Linked DNA regions of Homo sapiens: region 1 is linked to region 2. Evidence: promoter capture Hi-C in human tissues and cell types (Jung and others, 2019). All regions are on one chromosome and are shown on one strand. Each heading gives the region's core, a stretch centred on a gene start or on the middle of the fragment in contact. The rest is flanking DNA. Distances are from core to core; before and after follow the strand shown.

Region 1 (6,590 bases), core at 475-2,974, 1.3 Mb after region 2:
TCTCCTTTCAACAGTGCTTATGAAAATGCTCTTGAACACAAAATGTTGGGGGGAGGTTGTTTAGGTGCCATACCAATAGGATTCAGTTGAAATATTACTTCCTTGGGTATGCTAATAACCAAATGGCCTAGAATAGTGCCTGGTGCACAGGTGCTCAGTATTTGTAGAAAGAAGGAAAGAAAGAAAGAAATCAGACTCCTATTACATATCCTGAGAGCCCCTGTTCTTTTTTTTTTTTTTTTTTTTCAGACAGGATCCTGCTCTGTCACCCAGGCTGCCAGGCTGGAGGGCAGTGGTGCAATTACGGCTCACTGCAGCTTCAACCTCCAGGGCTCAAGCGATCCTACCACCTTACCCTCCTGAGTAGTTGGGACTACAGGAGTATGCCACCATGCCTGGCTAATTTTTGTATTTTTTTTTTTTTTTTTTTTTTAGAGACAGGGGTCTAACTATGTTGCTCAGGCTGGTCTCGGATTCCTTGGCTCAAGCAATCCACCCACCTTGGCCTCCCAAAGTGCTGGGATTACAGGCGGGAGCTACTGGGCCTGTTTCATGTTTTTTATATCCATAGGTTCGCAACTCTTATACTTTTCCTTTGTGGCACCCATCATAAATCGCAGTCATTTGTACTGCCATGATCTGTGTACTCTCCCACACCAGCCTAGAGACTTCTGCTTATTTTCTGCCGCATCCTCAGTTCCCAGCTCTGTAGGTGTTCACAAGCATGAATTCAACACTGTGCGAAAGAACTGAAGCTCACGTAGTCCACAACTTCCCCCAGTGTGGGGTGTGTGCCACCAGTGCTACACAAAGTGTTAGGTGGTGTGCAAACATTTTGTATTTTAATAGTTATACACTAGTTTTAATGTGAATTAGAAAAAATATAAGAAAGACAACAAAGGTGTTATAGATACTAATAATTAGGACAAGTTGAAAGGTTTAAAAAAATACGTTACTAAGTAAATGATGGTATAGAGATCATTTAAGCACGGCAAATGTAATAAAAATGACACACACACAACAGTTTAAGTAAAACTGACTCAGTGGCAAAGAAAAAAGATAGAAGCCTATAGACAGTTCCTCACACAGCAGCGAAATGAGACACTGCAACTAGGAGTCCTGCTTTCGTTCCTTGTTATGTACCAACTTGCTGGATTTCTCTGGGGACTCTGTAATTTCCCACGGCTTGAAAATATAATAGTTACCGCTCTTACTTACAGAGTTATCAAGAGCTTTAGATTTATCATACTTAAGGAACCTAAAATAAAAAAGTTCTAACTTCAAAGTATTTTAATTAACTACTGTTTTGAAACCAAAAATGTATGCTTACTGATAGCTCGTTTAGTCCCAGTTATATATACAAGGTGGTCTGAAAGTTTTAAAGTCAAGAACAGCATATTAAGACATTATTTTTGGAGCATTTTAATTAAAAATACACAGCTGACATAAATTAAGTGTCCATAGACCTGTGCACTGTAGATGAAATACATTCCTGTGGATGGCATACCATACCTTCATAGATGTGTTATACAATGAAATAAATGAAGTAAAAAGATCCAGGTAACGAGTTGTGAAGACCAGTGCAAACAGAAGCTGGCTTTTCCCAGAAATACCTAGAGAAACAGAAGGGAAGTATTAGAAGGGCCTGAAGAGCTTTGGGATTCCTGTGGATCACACTGTGCAGGGAGTGCAGACAGGGAAGGAGGGGTGCGTGGGGTCAAGGCCCAGGTCTAGGGATGGCTCTGAATGAACAAGAGCAGTTGTAGTTTTTCTATCCCTTCCCATTCCCAAACATGCTCCTTTTGGGAGGCTCTAACAGGCTTTTCTGTCTCACTATAAAGGGCGACCACAGGAAAGGGGCTTTATTATGCCAGGATGTGTATCATTCAAACGAACCTTTTACTTCTCAAATATATCACCTTAAGTAGGAACAAATTTCTCAATAATTCTGCTGTCATTTAGTGTTATAACTTGTCTCTTACATTCAGATTTTTCTTTTTTGTTTTCCCCTGAGACAGGGTCTCCCTCTGCTGCCCAGGCTGGAGTGCAGAGGCACGATCAAGCTCACTGTAGCCTTGACCTCCTGGGCTTCAGCAATCTTCCCACCTCGGCCTCCAGAGTAGGTGGGACTAGAGGTGTGAACTACCACACCCAGCTAATTTTTAAACAAATTTTTTGTTCACCATGTTGCCCACACTGGTCTTGAACTCCTGGGCCCAGCTTCCCAAAGCGTTGGCATTACAGGTATGAGCCATGTCGCCTGGTCCCTTCTTTGTATGGTAAAACAGTATCTCCATGGTGAGAAATCTTTTGAGAACGGAGATGGAGTCTACTGTCATTAAGGGGGATGAGGAGTAGATGAGAAGCACCGACTCAGGTAAGAGTTGGGCAGGAACTCCCGCTGGAATAATGGCATCGCATCCCATGGTGACTTCTTTGCTAAGAGCGGCAATTACTTGGATATGTTAAGATTTTTAAAGCTTCCCTCTCAGTTAGGCATAGTGGTCATGCCTATAATCTCCACATATAGGGGGGCTAAGGCGGGAGAATCGCTTGAGCCCAGGAGTTTGAGACCAGACTCCATCTCTACGAAAAATAGAAAAGTGATAGCCAGGCAAGGTGGCACACACCTGTGGTCCCAGCTACATGGGAGGTTGAGGTGGGAGGATTGCGTGACTCCAGGAGGCTGAGGCTGAGTGAGCTGTGGTCACATCCCTGCACTCTAGCCTGGGTGACAGAGCAAGACCCTGTCTCAAAAAATAAATTAATTACAATAAAATAGAAATTCCATTGTATTTGTATAAAAATGTTCCTGAATGCTAGGACAACATGAAGGTATGAACCCACAACTACAGCTGGTCTTCAAAAGCAGCTGTCTTTTTTAAAGCCTTGAAACTGTGTTTCCACTTCCAACCACCAACCCACCTCCAGAGCACTGCATGGCACAGCCACACTCAGCCAGGAAGGCTGGACATTTATGTGGTGTGCACACAGCTTTTCTGACATCTATATTTGGCCAAATATTTATGTGACAAAGGACGCAAACTATGGGTTTCAGATGCTGGAGACTGAGCAAATGCATTAAAGAAACTGAAGGCTGACTAAATGTCAGAACCCACCCACCCTCATCTATAATGCATACTTCACACCACTACACATTTTAGTAAGTATGAATTTAACAGAAAAGTCACTTCACCCAAATCATTCACAACACTCCTCTGGAACGTGAAAAGCACATTATTTTTCTTTTCTTTTTTTGAGACTGGGTCTCACTCTGTTGCCCAGGCTGGAGTGCGGTGGCACAAGTACAGCCCACTGCACCTTTGACCTCCCTGGGCTGAGGTGATCCTCCCACCTCAGCCTCCTGAGTAGCTGGGACTACAGGTGGGTGCACCACCACACCTGGCTAATATTTGTATTACATGTTGTTTTTCAATATTTTATGAACAATCATTTTGCAGCTTGCTGAAACTGAAAACCTGAATGTAAGAATGTTACTTTCTCAGATGAATAACTGTAGTCTCAGCCTATTCACATACACATCTAAATAGAAATGGAAAAAAATGTTGATGCCACCCTTCCAGATCCATCAATAGAAACCAAAGGGCCAAAGGAGGAGACACGGACAGTGAATCTGCTCTTAGTCTTTTCCCCGTAACGGATAACTGATTTCTTCCTACAGAGACCAATGTTCCAAAGGGGAAATGACAAGGCTGCTGCTAACCAAGAAACCGGGAGGTTTCAGAGGGGGAAGAAGAAAGAACAGGGAGCAGTCAGACCATACCTGGTGTTTGTTGAAGCCTTGAGAAATCAATTTCCAGCTTATTTCCTATATGGTTCTTTCCAATATTTTAAATATAAACATACAGGATACAAGTAGGTGAATTTTGTGGGAAAGGGTTTTACTCTAACAGAACTTTGGAAGCCAGGCAGATTTGAAATTGTGTCCTCATTCCCAGCATTCCTATACTGAAAACCAGGGACCATCATATTGTCTTTACCAGCCCCCGTGGGGACCCAGCTCATATCCCACCTCCTCTGGGATGTCATCTCTGAAGATACCCTCCCTCAGGACTGTTGATTCATTCAGCAAGCACATAAGGGGAACTGCTTCATGCCAGCTGCTGCCCTAGCTCCAATTACAGTACTTATAAAAATACACTGTGATGATGTGGTTCCTGCCTCTCCTCTCCCCAAAAACCTCACTCAGTACCAAGATCTTTAAAGGCTGGGGTCATGCCTTATTCCATCTTGTATTCCCTGCATGGGACACTGGGCCCTGACACACAGCAGGACTCAGAAAATATTTGCTGAATGAATAAATGGACAAAAGAAAATGGGATTCATTTTATCTTCATGTCATGGGGTCAAATTCTCATTTTGTGGTATTTTGGGAGAACACTTCTGAAGAATGTCCAGGTCATACTGTGTCTCTGTGACTGTAAATAGGGCTCTGCCCTAATTAACTACTAGCTAGAGGGTGAGAGAGCCCCAGGTGCGCACAGGGCAGTGTGTGGTTTGAAGCCGGTCCATGGAGTAGCGTCCACGCAGGACAGCCTTGCTGGAAATCTGCGGATGCTAACGTGGTCCCACACTGTTCTTCCCCAGCCTGAGATCCTGATTAGGAAGTAGCAGCTTCTTCCTTTAAAACAACAAAACTGTCCTGTCTTCATAGGAAAATGGGAATCCTAGCTGAAGACAGAAGGGGGTGGGGCAAGAATCTCCTGGAGGGGTTGGGAGTAGAATACCTGCTATTAAACCAGAGCAGCTCCTAGTCGGCTTCTCTCCACTTTGAGATCAAAGCATGCTAAGGTTACCAGGTAATAAGATCTCCCAGAATACTCACTTTTGTAAATGTTTCTGAAACTGATATCCCCTTACCAAATACACCAAACATCTATATTAAGGAGTACAACTTGTTAAATGGAAATCAGTCATTAAACAACATCATTCTTGTCTTATCCTACTGGGCCAGGTTAAATGTCTTTTGTTTTCTGTTTTGTTTTCGAGATGGGGTCTCTCTCTGTAGCCCAGGCTGGAGTAGACTGGTGCAATCATAGCTTCCAGCCTTGACCTCCTAGGCTCAAGCAATCTTCCCAATGAGGTATTATATATTACAAAATAGTTAGAAGTTTTCGAATGAAGAAATGATAAACACATGAGGTGACGGAAATAACTACCCAGATTAGACTATACAACATACACATGTATTGAAACATCAAACTGTACCCCATAAATAGATCCAATCATAATGTATCAATTAAAAAATTTTAATCCGTAACCCCAAATAATGCAAATTAAAACACATAAACCAAAAATAAGACATGAACATTTTAAAATTTGATATTGTCAAATTTCTCCTAGAAAGGCTATGCCAATTTACGTATCTACTAACACGAAATGCAAAGACCCTTTCTTCACATCCTTGCCAACATTTTCCTACCCAGTGGTATGTACTGCTGTTCTTTTTTCTTTGCTTGCCCGCCCCCCGGTTTTTTTTTTGAGACAGAACCTCACTCAGTTGCCCAACCCAGGGTATAATGGCATGATCACAGCTCGCTGCAGCCTGGGGCTTAAGCGATTCTCCCTCCTTAGCCACCTGAGTAGCTAAGACACAGGTGCACGCCACCACGCCCAGCTAATTTTTCATTTTTTTTGTAGAGACAGGGTTTCACTATGTTGCCCAGGCTGGTCTCAAGCTCCTGGCCTCAAGTGATCCTTTAGCTTTGACCTCCCAAAGCGCTGCCACCACACCTGGCCGCACTGCTATTTTCATATTCAAATTCCTAACTCCTAGCAAGACTAAGCATCCTTTCATGCTTCATTGGTCTTTCGTTATTCTTCAGTGAATTGCCAACTTTGCCCATTTTTCAGCTGGGTTTTTATTTGTAGGAGTACTTTATTATAGATATTAACCTTTTGTCACTTAGGTATATTACAGATTATTTCACTCAGTTTATTGTCTTTAGCTTTGATACTATTCTGAATTAAGAAATCAATTTGGAGAGATGTCATCTTGCTTCCTCACCAGCCTTCCTGGGTGCTCTCCAGGACCGTAGTATGAACATACATGCAGGTCATCTTCTATGTCCATCAGCAAAGTTTAATATTTATTTTTTATTTTTATTTTTTTGAGACAAGAGTTTCATTCTTGTCGCCCAGGCTGGAGTGCAGTGGTGCGATCTCGGCTCACTGCAACCTCTGCCTCCTGGGTTCAAGCAATTCTCCTGCCTCAGCCTCCCTAGTGGCTGGGACTACAGGTGCCTGCCACCACGCCCGGGTAACTTTTTTGTAATTTTAGTAGAGATGGGTTTCACCATATTGGCCAAGCTGGTCTTGAACTCCTGACTCAGGTGATCCACCTACCTCGGCCTCCCAAAGTGCTGGAATTACAGGTGTAAGCCACCGTGCTCGGCCATCTTTTGTACATTTTCCTATCATTTCAACTACATTGCAGCTTTCTTGAGAATAGAAACTTTTCTCTCTTTTGTTTGTCTTTTGTTTTTGAGACAGTCTCACTCTGTCACCCAAGCTGAAGTGCAATGGTGTGATCACGGCTCGCTGCAACCTCGACTTCCTGGGCTCCAGTA
Region 2 (6,909 bases), core at 2,001-4,500:
CTTGAGTAGCTGGGACCACAGGCACCAGCCACCACACCCGGCTAATTTTTTGTATTTTTAGTAGAGACGGGGTTTCGCCATGTCAGCCAGGATGGTCTCGATCTCCTGACCTCGTGATCTGCCTGTCTTGGCCTCCCAACATGCTGGATTACAGGCGTGAGCCACCGCGCCCGGCCTGTGGTTACTACTTTTTAAAGAACTTGTTTTGTTTTGAGACAGGATCTTGCTCTGTCACCCAGGCTGGAGTGTAGTGGCGCGGTCATAGCTCACTGCAGGCTTGAACTCCCAGGCTCAAGCCATCCTCCCGCCTTAGCCTCTGAAGGAGCTGGGACCACAGGCGCACACCACCACGCCCAGCTAATTTTTGTATTTTTGTAGAGACCGGGTTTCCCCATGTTGCCTAGTCTGGTTTCAAACTCCTGGACTCAAGCAATCCGCCTGCCTCAGCCTCCCAAAGTGTTGGGATTACAGGCATGAGCCAACACATCCGCTTTAAAGTACCTGTTTAGACTACTTTGTTTATCCCAAAATCATGAAGGCATTCTCGTTTCCTTCTAGAAATTCTATTGTTTTTACCTCTCACATCTAGGACTGTAATCCATCTCAAATTAATTTTTGAATATGGTGTGAGGTAGGGGTACTTATTCCTTTTATTGAAAAGACCATCCTTTCCTCAATGATTTCCAATGCGTTCTTGACCCTATAATTAGAATTAACTTCTGTAAGCACTCATTAGATCGTTCCACTTTCCTGCCTGTCTTTAACGGCAGACCATTGCTCTTATGGACAATAATCAGATAATGGTCAGTTCCTTGCGTAACAATACGCAGCTTGATCTGGCCACCTCCTGTCTCTCCTGCCAAATCTTGCCTTGTGTCTGCCTTTCCACTCTGAACATAGAGTTCTTTGGACAGGTCACACCCTCATCCTCAAGCCCTTCCCATATAGAGTGTTTTCATGCCCTTAGACTAGTTACTCAAACTTCAGGTCTCATCTCTTCCAGGAGCCTTCTCAATAGCACAGTCCCTGTCCCTTAAATATAGGTTGTGTGACTTCTATATATGCATTCATGGTCAGGCACAGTGGCTCATGCCTGTAATCCCAGCACTTTGGGAGGCCGAGGCAGGCAGATTACCTGAGGTCGGAAGTTCGAGACCAGCGTGACCAACATGGAGAAATCCCGTCTCCACTAAACATACAAAAATTAACTGGGCGTGATGGTGCACACCTGTAATCCCAGCTACTCGGGAGGCTGAGGCAGGAGAATCACTTGAACCCGGAAGGTGGACGTTGCAGTGAGCCGAGATTGCGCCATCGCACTCCAGCCTGGTCAAGAAGGTGAAATTCCGTCTCAAAAAAAAAAAAAAAAAAAAAAAAAATATATATATATATATATATATATATATATTCGCTCATTGTACCCCCGAGTTTCTAATTATATTTATTTATTTTATTTTTTGAGATGGAGTCTCACTGTGTCGCCCAGGCTGGAGTGCAGTGGCATGATCTCGGCTCACTGCAGCCTTCACCTCCTGGGTTCAAGCAATTCTCCCATCTCAGTCTCCTGAGTAGCTGGGATTACAGGGCCGTGCCACCACAACTGGCTAATATTTTACATTTTTCCTAGAGACAGGGTTTCACCATGTTGGGCAGGCTAGTCTCAAACTCATGACCTCAGGTGATCCACCTGCCTCAGCCTCCCAAAGTGCTGGGGTTACAGGCGTGAGTCACCATGCCCAGCCTATTTTATTTTACTTTTTAGATGGAGTCTCACTCTGTCGTCCGTCCAGGCTGGAGTGCAGAGGTGCAATCTCGGCTCACTGCAACCTCCACCTGTGGGGCTCAAGCAATTCTCCCACCTCAGCCTCCCTAGTAGCTGAGATTACAGGTGCCCACCACCATACCCAGCTAACTTTTGTACTTTTAGTAGAGACGGGGTTTCACCATGTTAGCCAGGCTGGTCTGGAACTCCCGACCTCAGGTGATCCACCCGCCTCAGCCTCCCAAAGTGCTGGGATTACAGGTAAGAGCCACCACACCTGGCCTTCTATTTATATTTAAATATCTCCCCATTATAACTTCTCTGAGGGAAAGGAGGAGGCCTATTTAGTTCACATGAGAGGTGCGTCCTAAATACTGTTGAATGAATGAATAAATTTAAGGGACGATTCTGTCCCAGGAACCCAGACAGTATGGACCTTGGAGAAACAGGACGTTTCCAGTCTCAGATCTAGCACTTGGCTAATAATTATTTCTGAGCCTCGATTTTCAAATCTGTAAAATTAAGATATACTATTCTCTACTTAGGATTGTAATGGGCATCAAATAAGATAATGTGGCTGGGCACAGTGGCTCACATCTGTAATCCCAGTACTTTGGGAGGCCGAGGTGGGAGCATCACTTGAGGCCAGGAGTGCGAGACCAGCCTAGGCAACAGAGTAAGACCCCCCCCGCCCCCACCCCATCTCTACAAAAAACTTAAAAGTTAGCAGGGTGTGGTGGCATGCATTTGTGGTCCCAGCTACTTGGGAGGCTAAGGTGGGAGGATCGCTTGAGCCTGAGTTTGAGGCTGCAGTGAGCTGTGATTGAGCCTCTGCACTCCAGCCTAGGCAACAGAGCGAGACCTTGTCTTTCAAAATAATAAAATGATAAGGTAATGCGCAGAAGCATTCAGCACAGTGATTGGCACATGGAGGGCCCATTGGGGTGTTTTTGTTTTTGTTTTTGTTGTTGTTTGAGACAGAGTCTCGCTCTATGGCCCAGGCTGGATGGATTGCAGTGGCATGATCTCGGCTCACTGCAATCTCCGCCTCCTGGGTTCAAGCGATTATCTTGCCTCAGCCTCCCGAGTAGCTGGGATTACAGGCGTACACCACCAAGCCCGGCTAATTTTTCTTGTATTTTTAGTAGAGACGGGGTTTCACCATGTTGGCCAGGCTGGTCTCGAACTTCTGATCTTAGGTGATCCGCCCGCCTTGGCCTCCCAAAATGCTGGGATTACAGGCCACCGTGCCTGGCCATTGAGTGTTATTAAGAGGAGGGTACGCAGAAAACAGACTCCCGCCAGCTCTGCCCCATGCGCATGAGCGGCCGCCGCTCGCCCTCAGCCAGGCCCAGCGCGCCCCGACGCGTCCCCACGCCTGCGTGATCCACCGGAACCCAAGCCCAGGCAGGCGGTGAGAGGGCGGGGCCTCCGCAGTGCGACTGCGCCGCTCGAGGCCGTGCGTCGCGGGGGCGGGGCCGCGCAGGCGTACCGGGTGCCCCGGCTCTGGAGCATAAACAAGAGCGGGGACGGGATGAGGCGGCGGTTGATCCCAGGGTGGCGAGTGGCGGCGACCGAGGCGGCGAGCGGGGCCCGGCGCCGACCCTGAGTGCAGCCTGACCCGCCCTCGCGCGCGCGCCCTCCCCGGCCGGGCCCACTCGCCGCGCGCCCAGCCATGAACCTGGCGAGCCAGAGCGGGGAGGCCGGCGCCGGCCAGCTGCTCTTCGCCAACTTCAACCAGGACAACACGTAAGGCCGGGGTCGGGGGTCGGAGTCGGGGTGAGGCCAGGGTCGGACCCGGGCTAGGGGGAGGGCCTCGCTGCCAAGCTCGGCGGCGTCGCAGGCTCGGCCTCCCCGCGGGCCAAGGCGCGCAGAGGCGTCCCCAGGGGCGGGCCCGGGGCGTGCAGGGAGGGGCGCCCTCCAGGGAGACCCTCGGGTGCTGGCCTGGAGCTGCGGTCCCGGAGCGGGAGAGGTGGTGGAGAGGGGGCTGCTTTCACCCTCTTGCGGGGAGGCCCCCTGGCTTCAGACTTAACTACTTCTCGCAAAGTTGGGGCCGAACTTTGGGGCTTGACTTGTCTTGGCCGCCTGTGGAGCGCTGGGTGTGGGTCGCTTCCTCTCCTCTCGTCTCCTCTTCCCGCTGCTTGCTCAGCGTCTCCCACTCACTCTCCTTTGAATCAGGCCCTTCTCCTTGTCTTTTCATCGTCTTAAGACCCTTCTCTCTCTCTTGATTTTCTTTTCTTCGTTTCTCACTGTTTTTTTGTTTGTTTTTGTTTTTTGGGGTTTGTTTTGTTTTGAGACAGAGTCTTGCTCTGTTGCCCAGGCTGGAGTGCAGTGGTGCCATCTCAGCTCACTGCAACCTCCGCCTCCTGGGTTCAAGCGATTCTCCTGCCTCAGCCTCCCGAGTAGCTGAGACTACAGGCACGCGCCACTGTGCCCAGCTAACTTTTTTGTATTTGTAGTAGAGACAGGGTTTCACCATGTTGGTCAGGCTGGTCTCAAATTCCTGACCTCAAGTGATCCGCCCACCTCAGCCTCCCAAAGTGCTGGGATTACAGGTGTGAGCCACCGTGCGCGGCCCTCCCTGTTCTTTTTGGGACATCAACTTTGATGTCTTCTCCAGCAAGTAACAAACTTAGCAATAACCTTGGCATCTGACCTAGCTAGGGAGAAACTGAGCCAAGAGAGGCGTTACGGACCAGTGCCCCAGGAGTCTCAGAGCTCCAGCGGGTGGGTCATCCTCAGGGCAAGAGAAGGCCTTAATGCCAGCCCGTGCATTCGGAACGCTGTTTGTCCCCACTGATACGGGTTGGATGCTGCCTGGGAGGAGGACTTGTGGGGATGGTTAATAGATGAGCGAGCTTTCTGGAGAGAGAAGGGTGAGTTATGGGGTTGGCAGGGAGGAGAGCCATCTTGGAAGTGAGTAAGAGGAAGTGAGGAAAGAGAAGGAGTGGGGCATTTGGCATCTTACTAAGTCATTGGTTGAGTTGTTACTGGCTGAGTGGAATTAACATAGCAGAAGGTAAGATTCTTTAGGAAATTAAAAGTGAATTGTAGAATGGACAACACTCAGTGGGTGGTGTACAGCAGGCACTCAATAGCACCTCCCCAAAGCTGTGAAGACAGTCGCACAGTGGGACTGTATTGAGAGTCGGAAGGGGCAAATCACCTCATCCAACTACAGATGAGGAAATCCTTCCGAAAGGCTCCAAGCTGGTCTGGGTTTTGGAATTGGTTAATAGTGGAGCGGGGGCAGGAGTGGAATCTCGCCTCCTGAGCTCTCTTCCAATGTTCTTTCTGCTCTGCCATGCTGTTTTTTTTTCTGTTTACAGAGTAGAATTCTGAAGACAGTGAATTTAGAAATAATAGCATAACAACGTGTAAAGATGAAAACTCCCAAGTACTGTAGCGTTCTGTGTGACCAAAAGCCAGAACAACAAACAATTCGGACAACCTGTTGCAGTTCAAGTGGAATAGACTATGTTAATCCAGATAGGGAAAAGGACACATCCCAAACCAATTCTAATTTGGTTTTTAAGCCCAAGGCCACAGTATTTTGAGACCAGTAAGAAATGGTAGTAGTAGTAGGGTGGTTTATGCCTTGTATAAATTAGAGAGTTTCCAAAACATTGTCGGCCACTCTTTCAGTTTTTCACTAATTATTTCTATCAGAATGAAATCAAATAGAGAAAAGCATTCTCTTTTACTGTTACTTCAGCTGGACTGCCATGTTCCCTGTGTCACAGAAGAGTGTCACTCTGGCCTGAAATAGGACCTTTTCACACTTGGACATTTTCACACTTACCCACTTCTCCATGCTCCCCGAAGTTATTACAGTTCAAGAGATTTCTGTTACTTTGAGATTTCATAACTTTGACTTGCCAGAGAGACCTTGATGTAGTGTAAACCTAAATTGGAATGAATAGTAAGCTAGGATTATACTAGAAGTTGACTGGGCTAAAATGACGGTAATTTGTTTTAAATCTACACTTGAAAGAAATAGAGAAGTTCCCGGAGAGAGCTTTTATGGCTTATACCTTTTCCTCCCTTCTTAATCTCCAGAATTTATTGAGGAGCACAATTTTTAGCAAGTGAAAGAATGACCGTCTAGAACTCACATTTACTGTATGCAGTGAGAAAATTTGGAAGCCAGTTCACTTACTAGAATATATATGTTATAGGGTCATTTCCCTTTTTTTTGTCTTTTAAATTCTTTTTGTATTTGTTACATACCAAACTATAACTGTCCTGCCTTTCTTTACTGGTAATATGATTTCCAATGTCGTACTTTTTCATGATTCCTATCCTAAAAGTGTGCATAAGTTTTATTTGTTTTTTACCATTTGTTTTTTGTTTTGTTTTGTTTTTTTACCTAGAGAAGTGAAAGGGGCATCAAGAGCAGCTGGTCTTGGCCGTCGCGCTGTTGTCTGGTTAGTTCCAACCCTGGTTTCTGAAAGTATCACCTTGGAAGGCTTATGTTAGAGGACTTTTTTGGCTTTTTGAAATTGCAGTGAACCAGTTAATAAGTGGGAGAGGATCACTTGAATCTGAAATGGAAATATCAAGGACTACATTTTTCCAGTGGATACCACAGCTTGTGGGAAGTTAGTGATGTAGCAATGTCTGTTTTAAATGCCATGTCTAAAAGGGATGGAATGAAGAAAGGGACTTGACTTTCCAAGTCTTGTGTTTGTAGAATTGATGTTATGAAGTGTGTGGAGACAACAGGAGAAACCTGTTGTTTTCTTCCACCATGTCTCTTCTAGGTTATGCTTATTGTGCTGGGAAGGTACTGCTCTCCTCTCTTTGTTCATCTGTAAATCAAGGGTTTGGGTTTTTGTTTTTGAGATGGAGTCTCACTGTTGCACAGTTTGAAGTGCAGTGGCATAGTTATAATGATCATAGCTTACTGCAACTTTGAGTTCCTGGGCTCAAGCGGTCCTCCTGCCTCAGCCTCCCGAGAAACCGGGACTACAGGCGTAGGCCCCACACCTGGCTAATTTTTTTTTTAGTTTTTGTAGGCACAGGGTCTTGCTATGTCGACCAGGCTGGTGTTGAACTCCTGGCCTCATGCGATCTTCCTGCCTCAGCCTCCAGAGCATTGGGATTACAGGTGTGAGCCGTTGTGCCCGGCCTGAAGATGGTTTCTA

The links. Contacts are between HindIII fragments. The study calls those that stand out against the background at their distance.
Region 1: a fragment that was not itself captured here is called in contact with the fragment with the promoter of WIPI2 in region 2 in 1 of the 25 tissues and cell types used here (spleen).

Annotation. Positions count from the first base shown.
Region 1 is chr7:6,472,672-6,479,261 of GRCh38, forward strand. KDELR2 (KDEL endoplasmic reticulum protein retention receptor 2) reads right to left here. Exons shown (of 5, transcript NM_006854.4): 2 at 1,513-1,613. Among named protein-coding and RNA genes, the nearest start is that of KDELR2, 8.2 kb to the right of the region's middle. The HindIII fragment of the contact is 6,301 bases long and covers 1-4,875 here.
Region 2 is chr7:5,186,983-5,193,891 of GRCh38, forward strand. It overlaps WIPI2 (WD repeat domain, phosphoinositide interacting 2), which reads left to right and starts at 3,251. Exons shown (of 13, transcript NM_015610.4): 1 at 3,251-3,511; 2 at 6,136-6,189. The coding sequence starts at 3,438. RefSeq lists silencers at 233-362, 3,036-3,685, 3,696-3,745. The HindIII fragment of the contact is 24,553 bases long and covers 1-6,909 here.